6 separate regions of the Homo sapiens genome follow, and all the other regions are linked to region 4. The links are contacts of gene promoters, found by promoter capture Hi-C in blood cells and fetal thymus (Javierre and others, 2016). All regions are on one chromosome and are shown on one strand. Each heading gives the region's core, a stretch centred on a gene start or on the middle of the fragment in contact. The rest is flanking DNA. Distances are from core to core; before and after follow the strand shown. Region 1 overlaps HPN-AS1 (HPN antisense RNA 1). Region 2 overlaps LINC01531 (long intergenic non-protein coding RNA 1531). Region 3 has its middle 12 kb from the start of LINC01531. Region 4 holds the start of FAM187B (family with sequence similarity 187 member B). Region 5 has its middle 9.9 kb from the start of FFAR2. Region 6 has its middle 12 kb from the start of GRAMD1A.

Region 1 (4,289 bases), core at 407-2,906, 150 kb after region 4:
CTCCACTCCCAGGGCACCTCTCTGCACCCCAGGGAACCCTAACCCCCCAGTTTAATACTGCATGCCCCTTCTCCAGCACTCCCCAGCCCTGCCCCGCCTGACTTACTGTTTAATCACCTACTTACTGGCTGGGTTGACTGATTGTCTTCTCCACTGGAATGTCGCCTCCATGAGGGCAAGGTTTTGTCTGTTTGGGTCACTGCTGTGTCTGCAGCGCCTAGAATGCTGCCTAGCACTTAGTGGGTGTTCAGTTAACCTTAGTCAAAGTGTGTGATGCCCCCGGGGCTTGTCTCTGGCTTTGGGAGGAGGGGTGGGCCAGGCAGGCCAGAGGCCAGAGCACCCACCACCAGTCCCTTGTGTTGGCCTTCGGAGCTTGCAATGGGCTGTTTCCTTTGGACAAAGAGAGGTTTTGTTTGCAAGATGCTGAACTTGCTTCCTGCTCTGAGAGGAGTGAGGGACTAGGGGCAGAGAAAAGGAGTTGCGCCTTGGGGTCCTGGAGGTTAGAGGCCCAGTCCTTCGGGATAAAGTCCTCACTTCTTGCCTGCCATTCAAGGCCCCACAGACACAGCCCAGGACCATGTCTCTCTCCAGGCTCCCCCATCTCTGGCTCAAATTTACACAGTCTCTGGGCTTCTGAAAACCTTGTTCCTTCTCCCTAGAACATTTGGCTTCTCCTTGCTTACCTATTGGCTTTGACTTGTCATTCAAGCCTCAGCTCTCGTGGCCCTTCCTCTGGGAAACTTGGCCTGACTTTCCAGGCTGGGCCAGCCCCTCCTCTGTGCTCCCCTGTGGCCCTACGCTTCCCTCATGTGAGCCCTGATCACTCTGCCGTGGCTGCCCCACCACAGACTCGGCCACCCTGGCAGCGTGTGGGCCCTACGAGGTCAGAGACCCGGCACTTCTCAGTCCTGCCCTGGCCCCTGCATCACCCAGGGCAAGATCAGGCCCAGGGGGACCCCTCCCTGCCACTCCCCAGCTGTGCGGCTCTGTGTCTGCTCTTCATCTGTGAAATGGTCGCGTTGTCCCATTCACACCAAAGGGATAAAAAGATGGCTCAGGACCCATCTCAGCTGCCTGCTGGACTGGAGAGGGTGTGGGCCGGGCTGATCCCAGGCCCTCCCCAGGACAGGCTGACCCAGACTCTGGGACAAGACCTGCCAACAGCAGAGCCCTGTGGTTTTGATCTCAGGACAGAGTGATGTTAACACAGGTTAAAAGTCAATTTCAGGCTGGGCACGGTGGCTCACCAGCACTTTGGGAGGCAGAGGCAGGTGGATCACTTGAAGTCAGGAGTTCAAGACCAGCCTGGCCAACATGGCAAAATCCCATCTCTATTGAAAATACAGAAATTAGCTGGGCATGGTGGCATGCTCCTGTACTCCCAGACACTTGGGAGTCTAAGGCATGAGAATTGCTTGAACTCGGGAGGTGAATTTTGCAGTGAGCCGAGATTACACCACTGTGCTCCAGTCTGGGTGACAGAGTGAGGCTCCATCCCCCCTCAAAAAAAAAATCAATTTCATAGTGACAGCTAATACTTGTAGAGCATTCACTATATTCACTATATTGCCAGCTACTGTTTATTTGTTTGGCTCTCACAACAACCCCACAAGAGAAGTGTTATTTTCACCATTCTTTCTCTTGTTAAAGGGGAAACTGAGGCACGGAGAGGTTAAGTGACGTCCCCAAGAGCACACAGCTGAAAGTGGTGGTACTGGCATCCTAACCAAGGCAGGCTGACTTTGGGATCTGTGTTCTCAATCTCAATGCTATACAGATCAGTGGGATAATTCCCTGCTTTGAAAAATGAAATAGAATAGAAAAGAATGTAATGCAAAGTATTGAGTGCATTTTCCTATTTGGTGACACTTTGTGTGCTGTGTATGCATATATTGGTGTGGTCAGCTGAAGAACAGCCCCTCAAAGATGTCCACAGTCTAATCGCTGTATCCTGTGATACGTTACATGGCAAAATGGACTTTGCAGATGTGATTAAGGTTCTAGACCTTGGGAAGGGAGAGATTAACCTGGATTATCTGGCTGGGCTCAGTGTAATCACGTGGGCTCTTAAAAGTGGGAGACAGAGGCCAGAGAGTCCATCAGAAAGAGGCAGGGGATTTCGAAGCATAATGGGGACTTGACCTGCTGTTAGTGGCCTTGAAAATGATGGAAGGGGCCATGAGCCAAGGAATGTGGGTGGCCTCTAGAAGTAGACACCAACCCTCAGGTTACAGCCAGCAGAGAGACAGGGCCCTCAGTCCTATAGCCATCAGAAACTGAATTCAGCCAACAATTTAAATAATTAAGGAAACAGTTCTCCCCTAGAGCCTCCAGAAAGAAATGCACTCCTGCAGACACGTTGATTTTTAGGCCAGCGAGAACTGTGTTGGAATTGTAAGAAAAAATTTGACATAGCAAGACCCCATCTGTACAAAACATTTTCAAAAAATTAGCTGGAGTTGGGCCGGGAGGGGTGGCTCATGCCTGTAATCCTAGCACTTTGGGAGGCCAAGGTGGGCAGGTCATGAGGTCAGGAGATCAAGACCATCTGGCTAACATGGTGAAACCCCATCTCTACTGAAAATACAAAAAATTAGCCAGCTGTGGTGGCAGGTGCCTGTAGTCTCAGCTACTTGGGAGGCTGAGGCAGGAGAATTGCTTGAACCCAGGGGGTGGAGGTTGCAGTGAGCTGAGGTCGCGCCATTGCACTCCAGCCTGGGCAACAGAGTGAGACTCCATCTCAAAATAAATAAATAAATAAATAAAAATTAGCTGGGTGCAGTGGCTCACACCTGTAGTCCCAGCACCTTGGGAGGCTGAGCAGGAGGATCGCTTGACACTAAGAGTTTGAGAACTGCCTGGGCAACATAGCAAGACTCTGTCTCTACAAAAAAAGTTTTAAAAATAGCCAGGTGTGGTGGTGCATGCTTGTAGTCCCAGCTACTCAGGAGGCTGAGGCAGAAAGAGCACTTGAGCCAGGAGTTGGAGGCTGCAGTGAGCCATGATTGCACCACTGCACTGCAGCCTGGGTGACAGAGCGAGATCCTGTCTCAAAAAAAAAAAAAAAAAGTGTTATTTTAAGCTGCTGAGTTTGTTGCAATTTGTTACAGCAGCAAGAGATAGAAAACTAATAGAATTAGATCCTGAAATGAACTATATTTTGTATTGTGGGTCTCCAACAAAAATGTTTGAAAGACTGCTTAATGCTCTTGACAAAGATCACTTGGCAGCAGGACAAGGGTGAGAGGCCGCAGACATTTGTCCTTTGGGCACCAGCCAGTACTACTGCCCACTGCTAACCTCATCCCAACTTCTGCCTGGGCAGTCTCCCCAAGGGCAGAGCCCGCGGTCAGGCAGAAGTCAATCGGAGACTCACATTCCCCTGGCCACAGTGAGAGGTACAAGAAGGAGTCAGTTGAAGCCACAGAGACGCAGTGCAAATCATGCTGGAGCTTCTGAGACCCACGGAGCTCTCTTTCCTGCTGGGCTGAGAAACCTGAGTGGCTGCAAGGTGTGGAGCCACTGTGGTCAGGGTGAGCCTGTCTGGATGTGGAGCCAATTTGGTGGGAAGCATGAAACCAAGGCCAGTGATGTCGAGCGCCTCACTGGGCCAGGCCTGAAGTAGCTACTCTGAGATCATTAATTATGCAACCCCACAAAATGGGCGGAACTGGTTTTCTGGACCTGGCCGGCAGAACGTGCTGGCTGGCATGGAGAGGATGCCACTCACCGCAGTCCACCAGGTGTCTCCAGGGCCTCACTAGGAGGCCGTGCTGCTGGCACTGCTGGACATAGCTCCCCAGAGCCTCGCACAGGATCTGCCGGGAACCCCTTGTGGCACAGAGGTCACGGATGCAGTTCTCCATGTGGACTTGGGCCTGGGCCAGCTCATCACAGGCCTGGAAGGGCCCATCGTGGGCACCCAGCAGCCCACAGAAAGCCAGTGACTGGTACCGGCCCTCTCGGTCATGGGGGCACAGAGGGGCAGTGCCCACGGTGGAGCAACTGGCTGGGGAATCCAGGCCCTTCAAGCTGAGTGCAAACACCTCCGGGTCAGGCAGGAGGGAGCCATCAGGGGCATGGAAGTCATCATGGGGGTCCCCGTTGAAGTCCCCACACAGGCTGCAGAGGGTGCCAGCGTAGGACTCAGGCACCATAATGGATACATGGTGGCTCCAGTCGTAGGAGACCAAGAGGCCAGCGTCAGTCTCCAGCATGGCCCCAGAATCGCTGAAATAGACGTGCACTTGGCCGCCAGCCAGGCGTAGGGGCAGGTGGGCCTGGGTCCT
Region 2 (4,709 bases), core at 324-2,823, 180 kb before region 4:
TGGTTGTTGTTTGCTTTAGACGGAGTGTCTGCTCTTGTTGCCCAGGTTGGAGTGCAATGGCATGATTTTGGCTCACTACAGCCTCTGCCTCTTGGATTCAAGTGATTCTCCTGTCTCAGCCTCTCAAGTAGCTGGGATTACAGCTGCACACCACCACGCCCAGCTAATTTTTATATTGTTAGTAGAGATGGGGTTTTGCCATGTTGGCCAGGCTGGTCTTGAACTCCTGGCCTCAGGTGATCTGCCTGCCTCAGCCTCCCAAAGTGCTGGAATTACAGGCATGAGCCACCATGCCCGGCACACCCCTCCCTCTTATCACTGTGTCCCACCCCTAGGAGCAGGACTTCCCCAAGGTCATTGAGAGTAACATTGTAAATGGTGGCATCTTGAGCCCATCTTTAGGAGAAAGGTCTCCCATAAGTTTACAGAAATCAAGTGACCTAACGTCACATCACAGTCCCTTTCTGGTGGACACTCACTCTCCCCACCATTAACCTGAAAACCGGAGAGGGCTGAAGGAGCCTTGCCGGTAACCTTCAAACTTCCATTCCTCGCTTAACACAATGCCTCAGGAACCATTTATTTACCGGGAGGTGCAATGGAACTAGTTGAATCGCCCTAGCTTATATTAACTAGGTGCTATCAAGTAGTCTAACAGTAAAATTGAGGCTTTCACAAAGGCTTTGTGAATTCCCCCGTTCAAAATAAAACACACTAAGCCTGTTTATAACTTTTGCCCTGAAAATCTTTCTTTAATCTTTGCTGACAGGAATTAAATATGCACTTTCCCTAGGATGACATAGGACAAATATAATTAGTATTATGCTTTCCTTCTCCCCCAGTTCCTATAGCCTCTAAGATTGGAAATCCTACATATAGTTTGGGTTAATATTCCACCTAATTGTAGATGAAGTAATCCTTCCCCATAAAACAAGAAGAAAAACTCCAATTTAAACAATCCTTAGGCCAGGCGCGGTGGCTCAAACCTGTAATTCTAGCACTTTGAGAGGCTGAGGTTGATGAATCACTTGAGGCCAGGAGTTCAAGACCAGCCTGGCCAACATGGTGAAACCCCATCTCTACTAAAAATACAAACATTTGCCAGGTGTGGTGGCGCATGCCTGTAATCCCAGCAACTCGGGAAGCTGAGGCATAAGAATTGCTTGAGCCTGGGAGGCGGAGGTTGCAGTGAGCCAAGCTCATGCCACTGCACTGCAGCAGTCTGGGTTACAGAGCGAGACTCTGTCTCAAAAAAAAAAAAAAAAAAAAAAAAAAAGCATCTTTAGAACAGGAACTAACATAACATGGTGAATACAGGTCTGTGCGGCGCAATTACATCCCATCCATCTGAGCCGGCTTTGTTACTTCTTTATCTCCTCATGGAATAGTTCTGATTGTTAAGTATCATATTTAATATCTCAACAAGCTTTGCATTTTATCAGGCAAACTTTAAACTCACTTTGAGAGGTTAAGTGGCATTAGACTTTATGAAATTTCGAATCATTAAAGACACATCAGGTAGCAGAAGGTTTTATATGTGCACAATTGCACTTAGCAGAGTAATCCTGTCTGTCATCTCACCAGGTCAGCAATTCTCAAACTTGTGGATCTCAAGGTCGGTTTATACTCTTGAAAATTACTGAAGGGATGGGTGTGGTGGCTCACCCCTCTAATCCCAACACTTTGGGAGGCTGAGGCAGGTGGATTGCTTTAAGCTTAGGAGTTTGAGACCAACCCGGGCAACATGGCAAAACCCCATCTCCACAAAAAATACAAGAATTAGCTGAGCATGGTGGCGTGCACCTGTAGTTCCAGCTACTTGGGAGGCTGAGGTGGGAGGGTTGCTTGAGCCTGGGAAGACGAGGCTGCAGTGAGTTGTGTTCATGCCACTGCACTCACCCTGGGTGGCAGAGTGAGACACTGTCTCGAAAAAAAAAAGAAAAAAGAAAAAAAAGGAAAGAAAAGCAAAAATGAAAATTCCTGCCAGGCGTGGTGGCTCATATCTATAATCCTAGGACCTTGGGAGACTGAGGTGGGCAGATCATGAGGTCAGGAGTGCGAGACCAGCCTGACCAACATGGTGAAACCCTGTCTCTACTAAAAATACAAAAATTAGCCGGGCATGGTGGCTTGTGCCTGTAATCTCAGCTACTTGGGAGGCTGAGGCAGGAGAATCGCTTGAAGCCAGGAGGCAGAGGTTGCGGTGAGCCGAGATCACACCACTGTACTCCAGCCTTGGCAACAAGAGTGAAACTGCGTATCAAAAAAAACAAAAAAAAAAAACAAAAAAAAAACAAAGTTAAAACAGAAAAATTTAAAAATGTGTATTAACTTATCTTATAATAATAATAACCATAAAACCATTACATGTTAATATAAATGACACGTTCCTAGAAAAAACAACTATATCTTCAAAAAATTCGTGACAGTGGCATTGTTTTACATTTTTGCAGATCTCTTTAATGCCTGGCTTAATAGAAGACAGCTGTATTTTCCTATCTGGTCTGCATTCATTCCGTCATGATATCACGTCACGTAGCTCTCAAAACCTCCACTGTGCACATTATTTGTGAGATAATGAAGGTGAAGAGAGCAATCAGCATTTTAATAGCATTATGAATAGTTTTGACCTCACAGACAGTGCTTTGAAAACTGCTGCCCTAGATTCACATAGTTCGAAGCTACTTGGGTTGGGTTTTCCTTGATGTGTGGTATTAAAGGGAAGAAGGAAGGGAGGGAGGGAGTAACTCATTGAGGAACTCCTACCATCTTACAGTGTTTAAAATAACCACTAAATAATGGAAACAGAACATACAGTTTCCAAGTCAGTGGAGGAATAAATGAAATGAGAAAGAAAAGAAATAAACGAACTGAATCTCAAAAGAAGGCTAGAGAGAAGAAAAAAAGAAATATTAAAAGGTGAGGGATGGCTTGGCAAGGTGGCTCACACCTGTAATACCAGCACTTTGGGAGGCCGAGGTGGTTGGATCACCTAAGGTCAGCAGTTCAAGACCAGCTTGGTCAACATGGTGAAACCCCGTCTTTAATAAAAATGCCAAAATTAGCCAGGCATAGTGGCACACACCTGTAATCCAAGCTACTTGGGAGGCTGAGGCACGAGAATTGCTTGAACCCAGGAGGTGGAGGTTGCAGTGAGCTGAGATCATGCCGTTGACTTCAGCCTGGGCAACAGAGTGAGACTGTGTCTGAAAATAAAATAAAATAGAATAAAATAAAATAAAATAAAATAAAATAAAAGATGAGGGAAATAAAAAGCACAAAATAATATGGTAGACTTTTTGCTTTTTCTTAAATAGGTGTGTTCACTCTGTGATATTTGTGATAGTTTATTTGGCCTGTACACTTATTATTTGGCCATGCATGGTGATATGGTTTGGCTGTGTCCCCACCTAAATCTCATCTTGAATTGCAGTTCCCATAATCCCAAGTGTCATGGGAGGAACCAGGTGGGAGGTAATTGAATCATGGGGTGGGTTACCCTCATGCTGTTCTCCTGATAGTGAGTGAGTTCTCACGAGATCTAATGGTTTTATCAGATGGCTTCTCCCATTTTGCTCTGCACTTCTTGCTGCTGCCATGTGAAGAAGGACCTGTTTGCTTTCCCTTCCACCATGATTCTATGTTTTCTGAGGCTTGCCCAGCCCCGTGGAACTGTGAGTCAATTAAACCTCTCTTCTTTGTAAATTACCCAGTCTCGGGTATGTCTTTACTAGCAGCGTGAGAATGGACTAATACACACGGTATGCATGTATATTTCAATATATGTGCACATACTTCACTAAAAGTATTTAAAATAAGATGACAGAGATAAATTCAAATATATTGGAAATTATTATTTTATAACTATAAATGGACAAAATGGTACAGTTAAAAGACAAATATTGTCCAGTTGTCAGACCAGATTACAAAAAAATCCAACCACTCTATACACTGCTTAGGAAAAGCACATTTAAAACATAAAGATATAGCAAGGTTGAATGTAGAAGGATGGACAGAGATGGACTGGCAAATAATAAGCAAAAACCAAGTTGATGTGGCTCTGTTAATATCAGACAAAATCAATGTTAAGGCAGAAAGAATTTTGAAAGTTTCAATTCACCAGGGAGACAGAACTACAAGGAGAAATAGGCAAATTTACCATGATAGAAGGAGCATGTAACACACCTCTTCATATAACTGATAGATTAAATAGATGAAAATGTATATAAAGGTTATGAAGATTTGAACATCATAAATTAACAAGTTTGATCTAAGGTATATACAGAGAACATAGCACCCAACAATTACAGAATCTATCTTCTTTTCATTACTGGAATACTAGAATACTGTTTATATTCTAAGCCAAAAAACAATTCTCAGCAAATTTCAAAGAACTGATACCATTGAAACAATACTCTGTAGTTAGAAATGAATAACAAAAGGATAAAGGGGGGAAACATCTGTGTTTGAAAATTAAGGTACATTTCCAAAGTCAAGAGTCAAATAAAAAAATCCCATGGAATTTGGAGCCTATTTAGAACTCAAAATAATGAGAATGCTGCAAATCAAAACTTGTGACATCCCACTAAAGCTGTTCTTAGAGGGAAATCTATCCAACACACTAAATGCTTACATTAGCAAAGAAGAAAGGCTAAAATGAACGAGCATCCAAGTTAACATGTTAGAAAAGGAGCAACAGAGAAGACTCA
Region 3 (4,391 bases), core at 1,861-4,360, 160 kb before region 4:
GGCAGGCAGATCACTTGAGCCCAGGAGTTCGAGACCAGCCTGGGCAATATAGTGAAACCCCGTCTCTACTAAAAATACAAAAAATTAGCCAGTGTGGTGGTGTGCACCCATAATCCCAGCTACTCGGGAGTCTGAGGCAGGAGAATTGCTTGAACCCAGGAGGCAGAGGTTGTAGTAAGCCGAGATCGCGCCATTGCACTCCCGCCTGGGCGACAGAGTGAGACTCCGTTTCAAAAAAAAAAAAAGCATAACTGGGGCTGGGCCCGGTGACTCGCGCCTGTAATCCCAGCACTCTGGGAGGCTGAGGCAGGCGGATCACCTGAGGTCAGGAGTTCGAGACCAGCCTGGCCAAGATGGTGAAACCCTGTCTCTACTAAAAATACAAAAATAAGCCAGGCATGGTGGCAGGCGTCTGTAGTCCCAGCTACTCGTGAGGCTGAGGCAGGAGAATCACTTGAACCCAGGAGGCGGAGGTTGCAGTGGGCCGAGATGGCACCACTGCACTCCAGCCTGGGTGACAGAGCAAGACTCCATCTCAAAAAAAGAAAAGAAAAAGCATAAATGGAATCATACTCCATATTTTTTTTGAAATTTTATTTTTCACCTTACAATATGCTTTAGTGATCTTTTCATGGCAGCCTATACCAATCTAGAGTCTTTCTAATGGCTACATGGTATTTCATTTTAGGACTGTCTTATAATTTATGTAACCATTTAGGATTAATTTACATAGTTTACAGTTCTCTTGGTATAACAAACAGTGCCTCTGCAAATTTATCTATTACCTATCTATCTATCTATCTATCATCTTTCTATCTAGCTAGCTAGCTAGCTATCTGAACAGGTGTGAGTATTTTGGTTAGATGAATCTTTAGATCTATAATTTATGTAATTGCTAGTTCAAAGAGGTATGCCTTGAAATTGTTGATAGATATTTGCATATTACCTTCCTGATAGTGTTTGGTAATTTACATTTCCACCAGCTGTACATGGCAGAATCCCTTCCCCTGCACCTTCTCCAACACTGGATGTTTGAATCTTTAATGTTTTTCCTCATTATGGGTAAGGATGGGTAAAAATGATGAAATCTTGTTGTTTTAGATTACATTTAGAGGATTCTTCCTACTTAAGTGATCCAGGTTCATTTCAAACCACTGTAGGAAAGGATGGACTATTCAGTAAATTATGTTGGGATAGCTGCCTATCCACTGGGAAGAATTACAGCCAGGTAACAAGAATAAAAGGCAGGTGCATTCAAGATCAAAAATGTTTTTAAAAATAATAAATGTTGTGTAGGTATTGTGTAATTTTAAAAGTCTTATAAATAAGGAGGCTTTTTCCCAGTATGACATAATGTAGAAGTCATCAAAAAATGATGAGAAATTTGAGCACATAAAAAGAGATAACCTATGAAAAACATTACAATCAACAAAGTAAAAGGCCACTATCCTTCTACTTATACACCTGATATGAGGTTTGTAAGCCAATATTCAAAGAACTCCTGTAAGTCAAATAAGAACAAAGCAAGTATTGGGAGAAACACAAATGACTCTACACAATATGTAAATATTGTCTATCTCATTTTTAATCTGGGAGATTAATATGAAAATAATACAGAGTATGACGGTTAATTTTATGTGTTGGCTTGGCCACGCCACAGTGCCCAGATATTTGGTGAAACGTTATTCTGGGTGTTGCTGTGAGGGTGTTTTTGGATGAGATTGACATTTACATTGGTGGACTCTGAGCAAAGCAGATTGCCCTCCAAAATGTGGGGGACTCCTCCAGTCACTGAAGGCCTGAACAGCACAAAAGGCTGACCTCCACATGCAAAAGAGAATTCTCCTGCATGCTGGATTCAGACTTTGTCTGCAGCAGTGGGTCTTCCTGGCTCACCAGCAGGCTCTCTTTAGACTCAACCACAACTTCTTCCTGAGCCTCGAGTCAGCCAGCTTCCTCCGTCAGATTTTGGGCTCATCAAGCATTCACAATCACATGAGCCAATTCCTTAAATAAATCTCTTTATACACACATGCAGACATGCAGACACACACACACACACACACAAACACACACACAGAAACACACAGACACACACACGGAGACACACAGTAACACACAGACACACACATGGACACACACACAGACATGCACACAGAAACACAGAGACACACACAGACACAGAGAGATATACACACACACAGAGAGACACACAGACCCACAAAAACACACAGAGACACACAGAAACACATACAAACATGCACACAGAAACACATACACAGAGACACACATTAACACACAGAGCCACAAACATACATGCACACAGACGCACACAGAGACATACAGACACACACATGGAGACACATATACAGACACACACAAAAACACACACAGAGAGAAACACACACACAGACATGCACACAGAGACACACATAGAGACACAGACAGAGACACACATACAAAAACATACAGAGACACACAGAGGTACACACACACAGAGACACACACAGACATGCACAGAGACACACACACAGATACATACACAGACACACACACAGACACACACACACCGCAGAGACACACATACACACACAGACACATGCACAGAGACACAGACACACAGACACACCCACAGACACACATACACACACTCTATTGGTTCTGTTTCTCTGGAAATCCCAGACTAATACTTAAGTTTCTAAATTCTAAATATCATCTCAAAAAATTAAAATACAATATTTTCTCTTGTCAGCAGAGTTATGGGGTCTCTTACAGACTGTTGGGGAAGAAAGGGTTGACTCAGCCGGGGAAGGTAATTCATCGATATTTATCAAAGCTTTACATGTACATATCATTTAATTCAACAGTACGACTTGTAGGAAATGCACAGTGCACGTGCCTTTATGTAAAAGGATGTTCTCATAGCATTATTTATAATAGTAGAAAATTAGAGATATTTTTAAAAAATCATTCATTCATTTATTCACCATCAAATGCCCAGTCTGTGCTAGGCACGGTTTTAGGCACCCACTGGGTATATAGTGACAAAGAAAACTGACGTGGTGACTGCTGTCATGGGCTTCTCAGTCTAGTAGGAGTCACGTTAAACAAATGAACACACACATACAAACATCAAACCATGAGAGCGCAGTGTGAGATAATATCAGAAGGGGGCTACTTGATATTGGATGATCAGGGAAAGCCTCTCTAAGGCGTGACATTGGACAGAAACTTGGAAGAAGTGGGGAACTAGCCAGGTAAAGAGTGGAAGGCATGGTGCATGCAGACATTCAGAGCTTGGCCTGCTCAAGGGACAGAGAGAAGTCCAGGCCAGAAGAGCGATGTCAGTGACACTTCTCTGGGGATGGCCCCAGAGAAGCTTGGAGAGAGAGGCAGGGCCTCAAAGGCTGTGAGGAGGAGGCCAGAATGGAAAGCCATTGAAAAGTTTTATTCAGGGCAATGACAGGATCCAATTTATATTCCTCATGAAACTGGCCTGATTGTCCCATAGATGCTTCTTTTGGATCAACGTAGAAATTCACCCTTCTTTTTTTTTTTTTTTTTTTTTTTTTAGATGGAGTCTTTCTCTGTTGCCCAGGCTGGAGTGCAGTGGTGCGATCTTGGCTCACTACAACCTCTGCTTCCCAGGTTCAAGCAATTCTCCTGCCTCAGTCTCCTGAGTAGCTGGGACTACAGGCACATGCCACCAAACCCGGCTAATTTTTTGTATTTTTAGTAGAGACAGGGTTTCACTGTGTTAGCCAGGATGGCCTTGATCTCCTGACCTCGTGATCCACCCACCTCGGGCTCCCAAAGTGCTGGGATTACAGGCATGAGCCACTGTGCCTGGCCCCCTCCTGGTCTTAAAGTTTGAAGCCTGCATTTGTCTTATCTGAGTTCTTGCCACAGGAAATCAACGAATTGAAACTCACCAGATCACTGCATCCAGACAATGAGATGCCAGACCCCTCATCCCTCCTGATTTCCTTATCCCTCCCTAATTCCTTTGACCAACTCCTCTTCCTTACCTCTCCCTAACTCTGGTTTTCCCACATGTAGTTACATTTCTTCCCTGCTGTATAACCCCCTGATTTTAGTTGACTAGGGAGATGGATTTGAGACTGATCCCCATTTTCCTTGGCTAAAGCACTCAATTAAAGCCTTCTTCCCAGGCAGTACTCATTGTCTTGGTGATTGGCTTTCTGTGCAGTGAGCAACGGGACCTAGACTGGAGCCCTGGCATTTCAGTAACAGATTTTGGTTCCCTACCTGGGAACACATTGCTTGTGGCTCAGCTGCTGCAGACTGGGACTTTCAGAAGCCCCCTGTACAGCTGTCTGACCTTTTTTTGGCTGGAGGTGGGTTTCCATCTTTTTCTCTTTGGCTCTGCT
Region 4 (4,194 bases), core at 1,197-3,696:
ATCTTTTAAGTTTCATCTTTTAATTCTTTGTTGCTGGTATATAAATCATATTTAATATATGACCTTATATCTAATTTTTTGCTTGTATCTTACCTCCAGTAAAATGCTGAATGGAAAAGTTGATGGCAGAAATACTTGTGTTATTCTTAGTATTTTACTATGAAGTATAATTTAGCCCTAGGTGTTTTTGTTTGTTTGTTTGTTTTTTGTTTTTTTTTTGAGACAGGGTCTCACTCTGTTGCCCAGGCTGGAGTGCAATGGCGCAATCTCAGTTCACTGCAACCTTCGCCTCCTGGGTTCAAATGATTCTCCTGCCTCAGCCTCCCAAGTAGCTGGGACTACAGGCACCCACCATCACACCCGGCTAATTTTTGTATTTTTAGTAGAGATAGGGTTTCGCCATGTTACCCTAACTGGTCTCGAACTCCTGACTTCAGGTGATCCACCCGCCTCGGCCTTCCAAAGTGCTGGGATTACAGGTGTGAGCCACTGTACCCGGCCTGTCCTAGGTTTTTAATAGAAACACTTTATCTTCTTAGAAAATTTCCTTTTGTTCCTAGTTTGCCAAAAGTTTTGAGCCATAAATGAATGTTGAGTTTTATCAGATGCATTCTCTGTATCTACTGAGATAATAATATGGTTTTTCTCCTTTATTCTGTTAATGTGGTGAATTACATTAATTGATGTGCAAATATAACCCAAATTTGCCGTCCTGAAATAACCCAATTTGGTCTTTATATTTATCCTTGTGTAAAGAAAATCACTGGAATCAATTTGCAATATTTTCTTTGGGATAGTGTGTCTGTGTTGACAAAAGAGATTGACCTGAGGTTTTTCTTTGTTGTAATGTCCTTATAAGGTTTTGAGATAAGGTGATGCAAGTCTCATAGAAATCTTCCATCTTTTTCTATGTTGGGAAAAGTCTGGAAGATCATTTAATTTATTTATTTATTTATTTATTTATTTGAGGCAGTGTCTCTGTCACCCAGGCTGGAGTGCAGTGGCGCAATCTGCACTCACTGCAACCTCTGCCTCCTGGGTTCAAGCTATTCTTCTGCCTCGGCCACCTGAGTAGCTGGGATTACAGATGCCCGACACCATGCCTGGCTAATTTTTTGTATTTTTAGTAGAGATGGGGCTTCACCGTGTTGGCCAGGCTGGCCTCGAATTCCTGACCTCAAGTGATTCTCCCATCTTGGCCACCCAAAGTGCTGGCAAGTGCTGGCATTACAGGTGTGAGCCACCGCCTGAGAAGGTGTTTAGAAAAGGGGATGGAAGGAAAGGGAGCAACTGAGAAAAATATTTGTTGAAGATGTATTGAGTCATGCAGATGGCTGAGGGAAGAGACGGGGACCAGCATGTGCAATGGTTCTGGGGCAAGAGCCCCTCTGCCTGCCTGACAGATTCAGGGAACAGCGGGAGGCCAGCGTGGTTGGAGGGTAGGGAGTAGGGGGAAAGGTGCAGGAGGTCAGAACAGTAACCAGAGATAAATTTTTTTAAATTTTTATTATTTTTTTTGAGATGGAGTTTCACGCTTGTCACCCAGGCTGGAGTGCAGCGGTGCGATCTCGGCTCACTGCAACCTCCGTCTCCCAGGTTCAAGTGATTCTCCTGCCTCAGCCTCCTGAGTAGCTGGGATTACAGATGCCCGCCACCACACCCAGCTATTTAGTAGAGACGGGGTTTCACCACGTTGGCCAGGCTGGTCTTGAACTCCTGACCTCAGGTGATCCGCCCGCCTCAGCCTCCCAAAAGTGCTGGGATTACAGGCATGAGCCACCGAGCCCAGCCCGAGAGGATTTGTTTACTGCTTTATCCCCAGTGCTAAGAAGTGTGCCCAGAACATAGTAAGAGTTCAGGAAATATGTGTTGAGTGTTCACATGTGACACCTTCATGCTCTTATTTCATCCCTGGGAATGTAGTCTCACCCCTGGGAAAGGAAGCGGGGCAGGTAGTAGAGAAAACTCTGAATAGACAAATTAAGTTTGCTCCTTTCCCAGCAAAATGGAGGGCTTGGAATAGAAATTAAATATGGTCAGCGGGGCACAGTGGCTCACGCCTGTAATCCCAACACTTTGGGAGGCCAAGGTGGGAGGATGGCTTGAAGCCAGGAGTTCGAGACCAGCTTGGGCAACATAACAAGACCCCGTCTCTACAGAAAAAATTTTAAACTAGCTGGGCATGGTTAGCATGCACCTGAAGTCCCAGCTACTCAACAGGCTGAGGTGAGAGGATTACTTGATTCCAGGAGTTTGAGGCTGTAGTGAGCTGTGATTGCAGCACTGCCTTCCAGCCTGGGTAAAAGAGCGAGTCCTTGTCTGAAAAAAAAAAAAAAAAGAAAAACAGTGTTGTCAGCTTGTCACAAAACAAAAGGGGATGGTGACCTCACACACACATGTGGTAGCTGCAATTCATCCCACTGCCCAGGGCTGAGGCCAGAGTTCATGGGTGACCTCACAATGTTCGGGGTGGCACCAGCCCACTGCCACAGCCCCAGTCCACCATGCCACCCATGCTGTGGCTGCTGCTCCACTTTGCTGCCCCGGCACTGGGGTTCTACTTTTCCATCAGCTGCCCCAGTGGTAAGCAGTGCCAACAGGCCCTACTCTCAGGCAATGATATTCTCCTGTATTGCAACTCCTCGGGGGCGCACTGGTACTATTTATTCACACAAGGCAAGAAGGGCAGGCTCACCAGCCTCACCAATATTTCCAATATGGAAATAATGCCCGAGGGCAGCCTTCTCATTAAAGATCCATTGCCCTCCCAGACGGGCCTCTACCACTGCTGGAACAAGAATGGCCGCCAAGTGGTGCAGTATGAAATTGACTTTCAGGATGTCACCACCCTGCATATAACACACAAGGACCTGGGTCAGAGGCCCCTGCAGAACGAGACCCTGCATTTGGGCAGCAAACAGCTCATTTTTACCTGGTGGGAGCCCTGGCAGGACTGCAACCGCTGTGAGGAGCCGGGCGAGTGTAAACGCCTGGGGTACCGCTACATTGAGGAGCCTCTGGAGGAAGCCATGCCCTGCTGGCTCTATCTGGGAGAGGTGCTGGTGTGGTCTAGCCGCTTGCGGCCTGAGCTGCAGGTGGAAGCCTGCCACGTCCAGTGCACCAATAACACACAGTTAAGGGTGGATTACGTCATTTTTGACAACTTCAGGCTCGATGAGAAGACAGAATTTGTGTGGCTCGACTGTCCCTTAGGATCCATGTACAGGTGATGGAATCCCTGCCTCTGGCCCCTACCCAGATTCTTCCGGTCAGGGGATCCTTCCTGGTAATATGTGCAGAGGGATGAGTGGGCGTTCTTTGCAGTTCAGCCACGTAGTGGTCATCAGGACAGTGCCAGGCCCTGCTCTTAAACAGTCCGAGGGGGACACAGCCCAGGGTGGTGCGAGCCGGGATGGGAGAAGCCCAGGCAGACAGATGGGGCTGTGATGGGGGAAGCCCAGGAAGCTTAGGGGCTCCAACAGGCCCCTGCTTCATCTGGAAAGGTCAGTGAGACCTTGGAGGAGAGGCTGGTGCCCCCGGGGCTTCCCATCAAGGCCTGCCTCCCAGAACTCACACTCATCTTCTTACTTCCTGCCAGGAGCCTCTGGAAAATAGCCCCTTCCCCTCCTCTCCCCCAGTCCACCTGCCCCTTAATAAGAAATGCAGGCTGGGCGCGGTGGCTCATGCCTGTAATCCCAGCACTTTGGGAGGCCGAGGTGGGTGGATCACCTGAGGTCAGGAGTTCGAGACCAGCCTGGCCAACATGGTGAAACCCCGTCTCTACTAGAAATACAAAAATTAGCCAGGTATGGTGGCACGTGCCTGTAATCCCAGCTACTCAGGAGGCTGACGCAGGAGAATCACTTGAACCCGGGAGGCGGAGGTTGCAGTGAGCCGAGATCACACCACTGCACTCCAGCCTGGGCAACATCACGAGACAACTCTGACTCAAAAAACAAAAAAACAAAAAAACCCCAGAAATCCATTGTCTCACCCTTCTGGAGGCCGTAAGTCTGAAATCAAGGTGTCAGTAGAACCACGCTCCCTCTCAGTCCCTCTGAGTGAGCTGGGCAGAATCCTCCTTTTTTCTAGCTTCTGGATGCAGTCAGAGATCCCGGTCTTCTCTGGCTTGTGGCTGCTTCTCTCCAATGCCCGCCTCCATCATCACTTGGCATTCTTCCTGGGTGTCTGTGT
Region 5 (4,187 bases), core at 259-2,758, 210 kb before region 4:
CTCCAGCCTCGACCTCCTGGGCTCCAGCGGTCCTCCCACCTCGGCCTCCCAAGTAGCTGAGACTACGGGCTTGGCCACCACACTTGGCTAATTTGCTATTTTTTGTAGAGACAGGGTCTTGCTGTGTTTCTCAGGCTGGTCTCAAACACCTGGCCTCAAGCGATTCTCCTGCTTTGGCCTCCCTAAGTGCTGGGATTACAGGTGTGGGCCATTGCACCCAGTGTGCAATTTTAAATAAATGACAATTAATAAGGAAGTACAGGATGCCAGAGAGAAATGGAACTCTCCTAGGGATGAAGAGGGAAGGAGAATCTAGACCAGCACGTGCTGATGGACTTTGAGACGTAATGGCCCCTGTGCCAGTGCAGTTCCCCTGAGTTCATTTGCGTATCACCTTTTTTGAGCCCTGCAGAGGCCTCACCAGAGGAGCTCACCCACTGTGAAGGTAACAGTTTATGCCCACCCCCCTCCGTGCATCTTCTCTTTTAGTTGTCTATTATGCAGCCTCCCCTGTCACTCCAGTCGTGGGGTCCTTCACTTCCACAGTCCCTGCAGAACCCATCCCCGGGCTGGTACATTGCTGAAGAAGAAAATTAAAAGGAGCGTCTCAAGGCTAGCTTCTTGGGAGAACTCTGCAGACTCTGTCTCTGTGGCCTTGGTGGTGGGCCTCTGTGGTTGTTCCCACCCACTGCCGGTAGCCATACCCCAACCTCTCTCTGCAGAGACCTCTCCTTCCTCCACTCTCCGTCCACCTGAGTCCTGTTTATTAGACTTCACTCCTGGCCAATCACACCAGCTGTGGTGGCCAAATGATGGTCCCCCCAAAAGAGACCCATATCCTAATCCCTGGAACCACGGCCAAAAGGGACTTTGCATTGGGATTAAGAAGCTTGAGATGGGGAGGTCATCTTGGACTATCTGAGATGGCCCTAAACATAATCACAAAAAGGAGGAGGCAGAACTGGGCGCATTGGCTCACACCTGTGTTCCCAGCACTTTGGGAGGCCGAGGCAGGCAGATCACTTGAGGCCAGGAGTTCGAGACCAGCCTGGCCAATATGGCAAAACCCCGTCTCATCTCTATTAAAAATCCAAAAACTTAGCCAGGCATGGTGGTGTGCATCTGTAATCCTGTAATCCCAGCTACTCCAGAGGCTGAGGCAGGAGAATCACTTGAATACGGGAAGTGGAGGCTGCAGTGAGCAGAGATCGTGCCACTGCACTCTAGCCTGGCAACAGAGTGAGACTCCGTCTCAAAAAAAAAAAAAGAATCTTTAGATGGGGAGATAATCTTGGACTATCTGAGATGGTCCTAAATGTAATCACAAAAAGAAAGAGGTAGAGGGAGAAATCAGACAGAAGGGGAGAAGATGCTGTGATCCTGGAGGACCGGAGTGATGTAGCTGCAAGCTAGCGCCCACCAGAAGCTGGAAGAGGCAAAGAATGGATTTTCTCAAGAGCCTCCGGAGAAATGGAATCCTGCTGAACACCTGTGTTCCATCCCAGCCGGATCTGGCTGGAGTCACCCCGAAAAGCTGTGGCAAGGGAGTTTCTGTCGAGGAGTTCCCCAAACCATCCCAAGAGGGGGCCAGATGGGTTCCCAAAGCAAGAAGCACCAAATGCCAGGGTGATTAGTGCAAAGCATTTCGGAGGGGAATTTGCAGAGTGGGCTGCAGCATCCTCAAGACGAACAATGAGAGAAAAGGGAGGGGGCAAGGGAGGGGTTTGCATGAGGGTTTAAGGAATTTGGCCCAGGGCCAGGGCTGGTTTCTTTCAGTGTCTAAACACCTTTATCAGTGCCTGGGAATGTTCAAGCCCTGGCTTGGGTTCAAGTCTGCAGAGAAAACACGCAGCTGGCTGGGTCGCAGGTTGGTCAAGGCACTCTGTTTCTTGGTCAGGACAGAGGAAAAAGGAGGGAAAATTAGGAGACCCTGCACCTTGATTTCAGCCCCGTGACACTGGTTTTGGACTTCTAGTCTTCAGTACTGTGAGAGAATAAATTTCTGTTATGTTAAGCCACCAAGTTTTTGGCAATTCATTACAACAGACAGAGGACATAGCAGACATGGCAGCCAACATTTATTGTATTGTATGACACTGTGTATCAAGTGCCATGCAAAAAGCTTTGCAAAGATGAACTCATGTAAATCTTAAAACATCCTAGGAAGTTACACACTCATCCCCTTTAACGGACGAGGAAGCTGAAGTATGTAGAGAAAGAAGTGATTTGCCTGGAGTCATGCATCTGGTGGACGGAGGAACTGAACTCTGAACTAAAAAGTCCATGGGCTTTTTTTATTTTTTATTTTTTTAGACAGGGTCTCGCTCTGTTGCCCAGGCTGGAGTGCAGGGGCACAATCATGGCTTACTGAAATCTCTGCCTCCCACGCTCAAGTGATTCTCCTGCCTCAGCCTCTGGAGTAGCTGGAATTACAGGTGCACGCCAGCATGCCTGGCTAATTTTTTTTTTTTTTTTTTAGACAGGGTCTCACTCTGTCACCCAGGCTGGAGTACAGTGGCACTATCTTGGCTCACTGAAACCTGCGACTTCAGAAATCCTCCCACTTCAGCCTCCCGAGTAGCTGGGATTACAAGATTACAGTGCGCCACCATGCCCGGCTAATGCTTGTATTTTTTGTAGAGACGGGGTTTCACCATGTGCCCAGGCTGGTCTTGAACTTTTGGACTCAAGCGATCTGCACACCTTGGCCTTCCAGAGTGTGGGGATTACAGGCGTGAGCCCCCGCGCCCGGCTGGAGTCCATGGTCTTTACCACCGCACTACACTCGCCACTGTACTGTGAGGGCCCCGGTTAGACCCAACTTCTTTGGTGGCCCCTGGAAGTCCTGTGCATCCCACAGAGGAGGACATGGGGGACAGGTCAGGGTGTGAGATGGTGTCAACTGCTTCCTGCAGGGTGTGTCTGTGTGGTTACCAGGCTTCTTGCCAGTGGTCTTCACTCTTTCCCTGAAACCATGAAGGAGTAACCTTCAACCCCAGACTCCCAAGACCCAGGCAACTCCCAGCCTTCCACATGTCCTCGTTCCTGCCATAGCCCCAGATCCCAGATGCTGCAATCTGTCGTCAGTCCCCACTCCCTGTCTCTAAACATTCTGGATACACAGGAAGTAGAGGGAAGATTCTATTTACTGTTTCTGTCTACCGTTTACCAAGTTGTTTGCTTTCATGGTTTCCATGAATGCTTATAAGACTCTGGATTTGATTGTGAAACAGAATGAAGAGCTTGGGAGGAGGAATGTTTATTCCAGGAATCCTGGAGAGGTTGCCTGACCTTTTCCTCCTTCCCCGAGCCCCCTTCTCCATCTGCTGTCCGTGCAGAGGTGACCACTGGACTAGACACAGGACTAAAAAGCCCTCCCCCTGCCGCTTCCGGGCCAGACCCCTGGGTAGCTAGCGCGGGTTCACACCACCCTTGATAAGGGCCAGAAGGCAGCTGGTCGTTTCCTTGGGCTGATTTTCAGTGCTGACCCTGAGCCAGGGAGGAGAGGCAGCAGAGTGTCTGGAGGCGGAAACTTGCAGTCAGGTGCTGGCTGATCCTGCAAAAGACACACCAGATGGGGGGCAAAACTAGTTGCTCTGTGTTCCTTTCCCCAGCCCAACCTTGTCTCTGTTTTCCTCCATTACCTGCTTCTGCCACATACATGACTCATCTTCCCCTAAGAGTTGTGGTATCGCTGGAGTCACCAGGGTTTCTGTCTGCTTTGCAGAATCTTAGGAAACTTAAATTAGACGGCAGATTTTCAGGAAGTGCAGGGAGGATATCAGAAACTCCCGGGTGTCACACCCGGGGAGTTGGCAGCACGTTTCAAAATGCTTGGAAATTTTCCAAGAGAGAGAGAAAAGCCCTGGTTTTCTTAATGCAAACCAGAAAGTAAAGTTTCTGTTTATCAGAAGTGGGAAGTGGTTAAAAATAGATTGAGAAACAGTGATGCAGTGGACATAACACTCTAAGACCCGCTCTTGGTAAAGTTTACGTGAACTGAGATCCTCTTCACGTTGAGCCATCTTCCCTGAGCCTTTTCCAATGCCAGAAGAATTCAGATTCCATAGGAAGCAGGGAAGACTGCTCTCAGGAGAAGGTGGGAGGGGAGAATGTAGTCTTAATTTTGGGAATGTCTTGGGGATTCCTTCCCCCACTTTTTTTTTTCCTTGAGCCCTTGCTACTTG
Region 6 (4,445 bases), core at 1,263-3,762, 240 kb after region 4:
GCCATTTCCTGCCCTTAAACTTGCGGCTATCCGGGGAGAAAGCTTGGTGTATCCTGAATTGTCCAAGGAGCTAGCATCTTGACAATAACAGGACAGGAGGGATGAGAATGGATTTTTTTTTTTTTTTGCATTTTATGAACCAGAGCATTAAAGTTTGGGCCTCCCAAGGGTTCCTTTCCTCTGCCCAGCTTCCCCCCTAGTACCTCTTCCCTGTTTTGACTTCTCATTTTATATACTTTATTCCCACCCTGAACACCCTGAGGGGCCCAGAATGTATTCTAAGAAAGGATGCCCATTCTGCTTCTGAAAACCTAGAGCAACAAATATTCCTGACCATTTGAGTTCATTTTTGCAAGGAGTTGTCAGACCAAATATAACATTTTCTGTGGAAAATACCTATTTTGGAAGGATCTTTAACATCCAATGGAAATTCCATCCCATATTTCTTATTATTATTATTATTATTATTATTATTTTTGAGACAGAGTCTCGCTCTGTTGCCCAGGATGGAATGCAGTGGCGCAATCTCAGCTCACTGCAAGCTCCACCTCCTGGGTTCAAGAGATTCTCCTACGTCAGTCTCCCGAGTAGCTGGGATTACAGGCATGCGCCACCACGCCTGGCTAATTTTTGTATTTTTAGTAGAGATGGGGTTTCACCATGTTGGTCAGGCTGGTCTCGGACTCCTGACCTAAAGTGATCCACCCACCTTGGCCTCCCAAAGTGCTGGGATCACAGGCGTGAGCCACTGTGCCTGGCCGTCCATCCCATATTTCACCAAGACTGGGAACTCTTCAAGGAAACTCCAAGATAGTGGAGGCTCAGTTTCTGCAGTGATGGAGGGGGTGGGGGTGGCTGTGATAAACTGCAATGATTTTCTGGGCTCTCCCCTTTCCCACTGACATACACATAGTCAGCTGCTCTTCTAGAGAATGGGAATTAAGCCTCAGACACTTAGACACGGTGCCTCTAGTCAATGAGCGTACAGCCCTCATCTGGAAAGCGTGGAAAACCCCCACCTCAAGGAAATTCCCCACCTCCAGGGATTTTGAGGGAATCTAACAATATAAGTAAGAGCCTGAGCTGAAGCACACACCCAGTGCCCACTCAACTGTTTTAGCTATTGTTAAATGTTCCCGAGAGAGTCGATTTCAACAACCACATCATATGAGATGCTGGAATGGCTCCTGCCTATCGTCTCTGCACTTTGGGAGGCAGAGGCAGGAGGATTGCTTGAGCCCAGGAGTTTGAGACCAGCCTGGACAACATAACAAGACCTCATCTTCACCAAAAAAAATAGAAAATTTAACCAGGCTGATGGCACATGCCTGTGGACCCATCTACTTGGGAGGCTGAGGCAGGCAGATTGCTTGAGCCCATGAGGGCAAGGCTGCAGTAAGCCCTGATCACACCACTGCACTCCAACCTGTCTCCAGACTAAAAAAAAAAAAAGCTGGATACCAGATTCTGGGGGAATACAGCTATGAGAAATGTAAGAATTCTCAAATGCTTGTCACTTCCCCATGTTGGTTTTGTTTAGCTCTGGGTGTTTTCCCACACCACTTATTAAGAAAGTCGTTAAAGGCTGGGCACAGTGGCTCATGCCTGTAATCCCAGCACTTTGGGAGGCTAAGGCGGGTGGATCACTTGAGGCCAGGAGTTCAAGACCAGCCTGGCCCACATGGTGAAACCCCCTCTCTACTAAAAATACAAAAAATTAGCTGGGTGTGATGGCGTGCACCTGTAGTCCCAGCTACTCAGGAGGCTGAGGCAGGAGAATCCCTTGAACCCAGGAGATGGAGGCTGCAGTGAGCCAAGATCGCACCACTACACTTCCAGCCTGGGTGACAGAGCAAGACTGTCTGAAAAAAAAAAAAGAAAAAAAGAAAGAGAGAGAGAGAAAGAAAGAAAGAAGAAAGAGAAAGAAAGAAAGTTGTTAAAATGAGAAGTTGATGCATGCCTGTTTGCAAAGGGAGAAATTGGAGCAATTCCATTTTGCTCTGCAGTCAGGTTTGTGAGAAGAACCCTCCTATCAGGGCAGGTTTAGTTTAGTAAGGTTAATTTTTTTTCCTGTGTTTTTTTTTGTATTGGCATTATATATTTTTTTCTTAAAAAAATCCTTGAAAATTCAAGTATAGTTAATATTAACAGGAAACAGCCAGTCTTGCACCTGTGAACCTGCAAAAAGGCAGGGCAGGAGGAGGGGAACTGGCCACCCTAGCAGAGGACACTCAGGCTGCATAAGGAACAGATGCTTCTGGTGGGGACACAGGGCTCTCAGAGTGCCCACACTGTGACAGGTAAGATTTACAGACACACATCAACAAGGACATTGGGGTCACTCTCCACACTTCTGTACACTGCGCAAAACATCCATTCCCAGAGAAGGAAGAAAAAGTTAGCCAGGCTTGGGAAAGTCTGTACTCCAAACACTTTTTAAAATTTCCATTGGAGTGTTGTGCACATCACAAACAAATATAAATGAGTATTAATAAAGTGAACTTTTGTATTATTAATTTCCTTTGGCTGCCGTCACAAATGATCCCAAACTTTGTGGCTTGAAACAACAGAATTATTATCTCAGTGTTCTAGAGACCAGAAGGCCAAAGTCAAGGTGTCAGCCGCGCCATGTTCCCTCTGAAGGCTCTAATCCTTCCCTGCCTCTTCCAGCTTCTGTTGGCTCTAAACAGTCCTTAGCTTGGGGCTGCATAACCCTCATCTTTGCCTCTGTCTCCACATGGCCTTCTCCTACTCCCTGTGTCTCTTACAAGGACCCTTGTCATTGGATTTACAGCCCACTCAGATAATACAAGCTGATCTTATCTTGAGATCCTTAATTTAATTACATGTACAAGCTGTGTGCGGTGGCTCACACCCACAATCCCAGCACTTTGGGAAGCCGAGGTGGGCAGATCACCTGAGGTCAGGAATTGGAGACTAGCCTGACCAACATGGTGAAGGCTGGCCAACATGGTGAAATCCCATCTCTACAAAAAAAAAAAAAAAAAAAAATTAGCTGGGTGTGGTGGTGCATGCCTGTAATCCCAGCTACTTGGGAGGCTAAGGCAGGAGAATTGCTTGAACTCAGGAGGCAGAGGTTGCAGTGAGCCGAGATTGCACCACCACACTCCAGCCTGGGCAACAGAGTGAGACTCCATCTCAAAAAAAAAAAAAATTACATGTACAAAGACTCCTTTTCCAAATAAAGTCACTGTCACAGGTTCCGAGGGTTGGGATGTGGACATATCTTTTGGGGGGCTATTATACTACTTACTACAACACTCAAGTAAAAAGACCACAAATGTCCATTAAAGGTCCTGAATAAGAATGATCATACCAGCTTTATCCATAACAGCCAAAACCTTGAAACAACCCTAATGTCCATCAAAAAGAGAATGAATAAATAAATTGTGATATATTCATACAGTGGAATACTATATGGCAACGAAAATGAGCAAACTATTGCCGCAAGTATCAGCGTGAATGCATCTCCATTAATATAAAGTTCAAGAACAGGCGAAACCAATCCATGGTGATGGAGGTCAGAATAGTGCTTACCCTCAGGGGATAATGACTAGGAGGGCGCGAGGGATCTTCTGAAGTGTTGGAAGTATTCTATATTTTTTTTTATTCTTTTAGAGACAGGGTCTTGCTCTGTAGCCCAGGCTGGAATGAAGTGACACAATCATAACTCACTGTAACCCCAACCTCCCAGACTCAACTGATCTTCTCATTTCAGCCTCCCGAGTAGCTGGGACTGCAGGTATGTGCCACCACATATGGCTAATATTTTTACTTTTTATTTTTTGTGGAGATGGGGTCTCGCTATGTTGCCTAGGCTGGTCTCAAATACCTGGCCACACGGGATCCTCCTGCTTTGGTCTCCCAAAATGCTGGGATTACAGGTATGAGCCATTTGCTTCCAGCCAGTATTCTATATTTTCATCTGAGTGGTAGTGGTAGTCATATGAAAAATTAATTATACTATGCATTTAAGATTTATGCACTTTACTGAATGTATGTTATAAAATTTAACTTGTCATTAAAATTTTACGTATTTTAAACTCAATTACATGTACAATTTCATGTATAAAAACTCAATTAGTTTAAAATACATAAAAGTTGCAATATATCATCATTGTTAAAACTATTTTAACAGGCTTATTGAAGTATAATTGATATATGATACACTGCACATATTTAAATTATACAATTTTTATCTTTGATATTGACATTTGTATATATCCATGAAATCACCACCACAATCAAGCTAACCAACATCACCCACAAAAGTCTCTTCCTGCCCTTCTCCATATTCCCCATGCTCCCTACAACATTAAAATTATATTAAAATTTTCTAAAAAATGAAAATAAATAAATATCTGGTTGATCTTGCTAGTTGCAAAAAGAATCATAAGTAAAATTACTGCAGTATGCCTTCTTTC

Evidence for each region. Contacts are between HindIII fragments. The CHiCAGO score rates a contact against its expected background, and 5 or more counts as called.
Region 1: a fragment that was not itself captured here is called in contact with the fragment with the promoter of FAM187B in region 4 in 4 of 17 cell types (naive B cells, total B cells, naive CD4 T cells and 1 more); the score reaches 13.3 in naive B cells.
Region 2: a contact is called between a fragment that was not itself captured here and the fragment with the promoter of FAM187B in region 4, in 3 of 17 cell types (monocytes, naive B cells and total B cells). The highest score is 10.6, in monocytes.
Region 3: a fragment that was not itself captured here is called in contact with the fragment with the promoter of FAM187B in region 4 in 3 of 17 cell types (monocytes, naive B cells and total B cells); the score reaches 13.3 in monocytes.
Region 5: a fragment that was not itself captured here is called in contact with the fragment with the promoter of FAM187B in region 4 in 2 of 17 cell types (total B cells and naive B cells); the score reaches 7.1 in total B cells.
Region 6: a fragment that was not itself captured here is called in contact with the fragment with the promoter of FAM187B in region 4 in 1 of 17 cell types (non-activated CD4 T cells); the score reaches 5.6 in non-activated CD4 T cells.

What each region holds. Positions count from the first base shown.
Region 1 is chr19:35,080,433-35,084,721 of GRCh38, reverse strand. The region is part of intron 3 of HPN-AS1 (HPN antisense RNA 1); the gene reads left to right. It also overlaps the pseudogene LOC100420797. Among named protein-coding and RNA genes, the nearest start is that of HPN-AS1, 24 kb to the left of the region's middle. RefSeq lists an enhancer at 1-604. The HindIII fragment of the contact is 5,907 bases long and covers 1-4,289 here.
Region 2 is chr19:35,409,659-35,414,367 of GRCh38, reverse strand. LINC01531 (long intergenic non-protein coding RNA 1531) reads right to left here. Exons shown (of 5, transcript NR_040046.1): 4 at 3,086-3,206. Among named protein-coding and RNA genes, the nearest start is that of LINC01531, 6.4 kb to the right of the region's middle. The HindIII fragment of the contact is 289 bases long and covers 1,429-1,717 here.
Region 3 is chr19:35,391,073-35,395,463 of GRCh38, reverse strand. No RefSeq gene overlaps it. Among named protein-coding and RNA genes, the nearest start is that of LINC01531, 12 kb to the left of the region's middle. The HindIII fragment of the contact is 543 bases long and covers 2,839-3,381 here.
Region 4 is chr19:35,226,991-35,231,184 of GRCh38, reverse strand. It overlaps FAM187B (family with sequence similarity 187 member B), which reads left to right and starts at 2,446. Exons shown (of 2, transcript NM_152481.2): 1 at 2,446-3,226. The coding sequence starts at 2,505. The HindIII fragment of the contact is 8,324 bases long and covers 1-3,467 here.
Region 5 is chr19:35,436,308-35,440,494 of GRCh38, reverse strand. No RefSeq gene overlaps it. Among named protein-coding and RNA genes, the nearest start is that of FFAR2, 9.9 kb to the left of the region's middle. RefSeq lists enhancers at 2,027-2,988, 2,989-3,952 and a silencer at 3,574-3,868. The HindIII fragment of the contact is 1,233 bases long and covers 892-2,124 here.
Region 6 is chr19:34,986,074-34,990,518 of GRCh38, reverse strand. No RefSeq gene overlaps it. Among named protein-coding and RNA genes, the nearest start is that of GRAMD1A, 12 kb to the left of the region's middle. The HindIII fragment of the contact is 4,935 bases long and covers 45-4,445 here.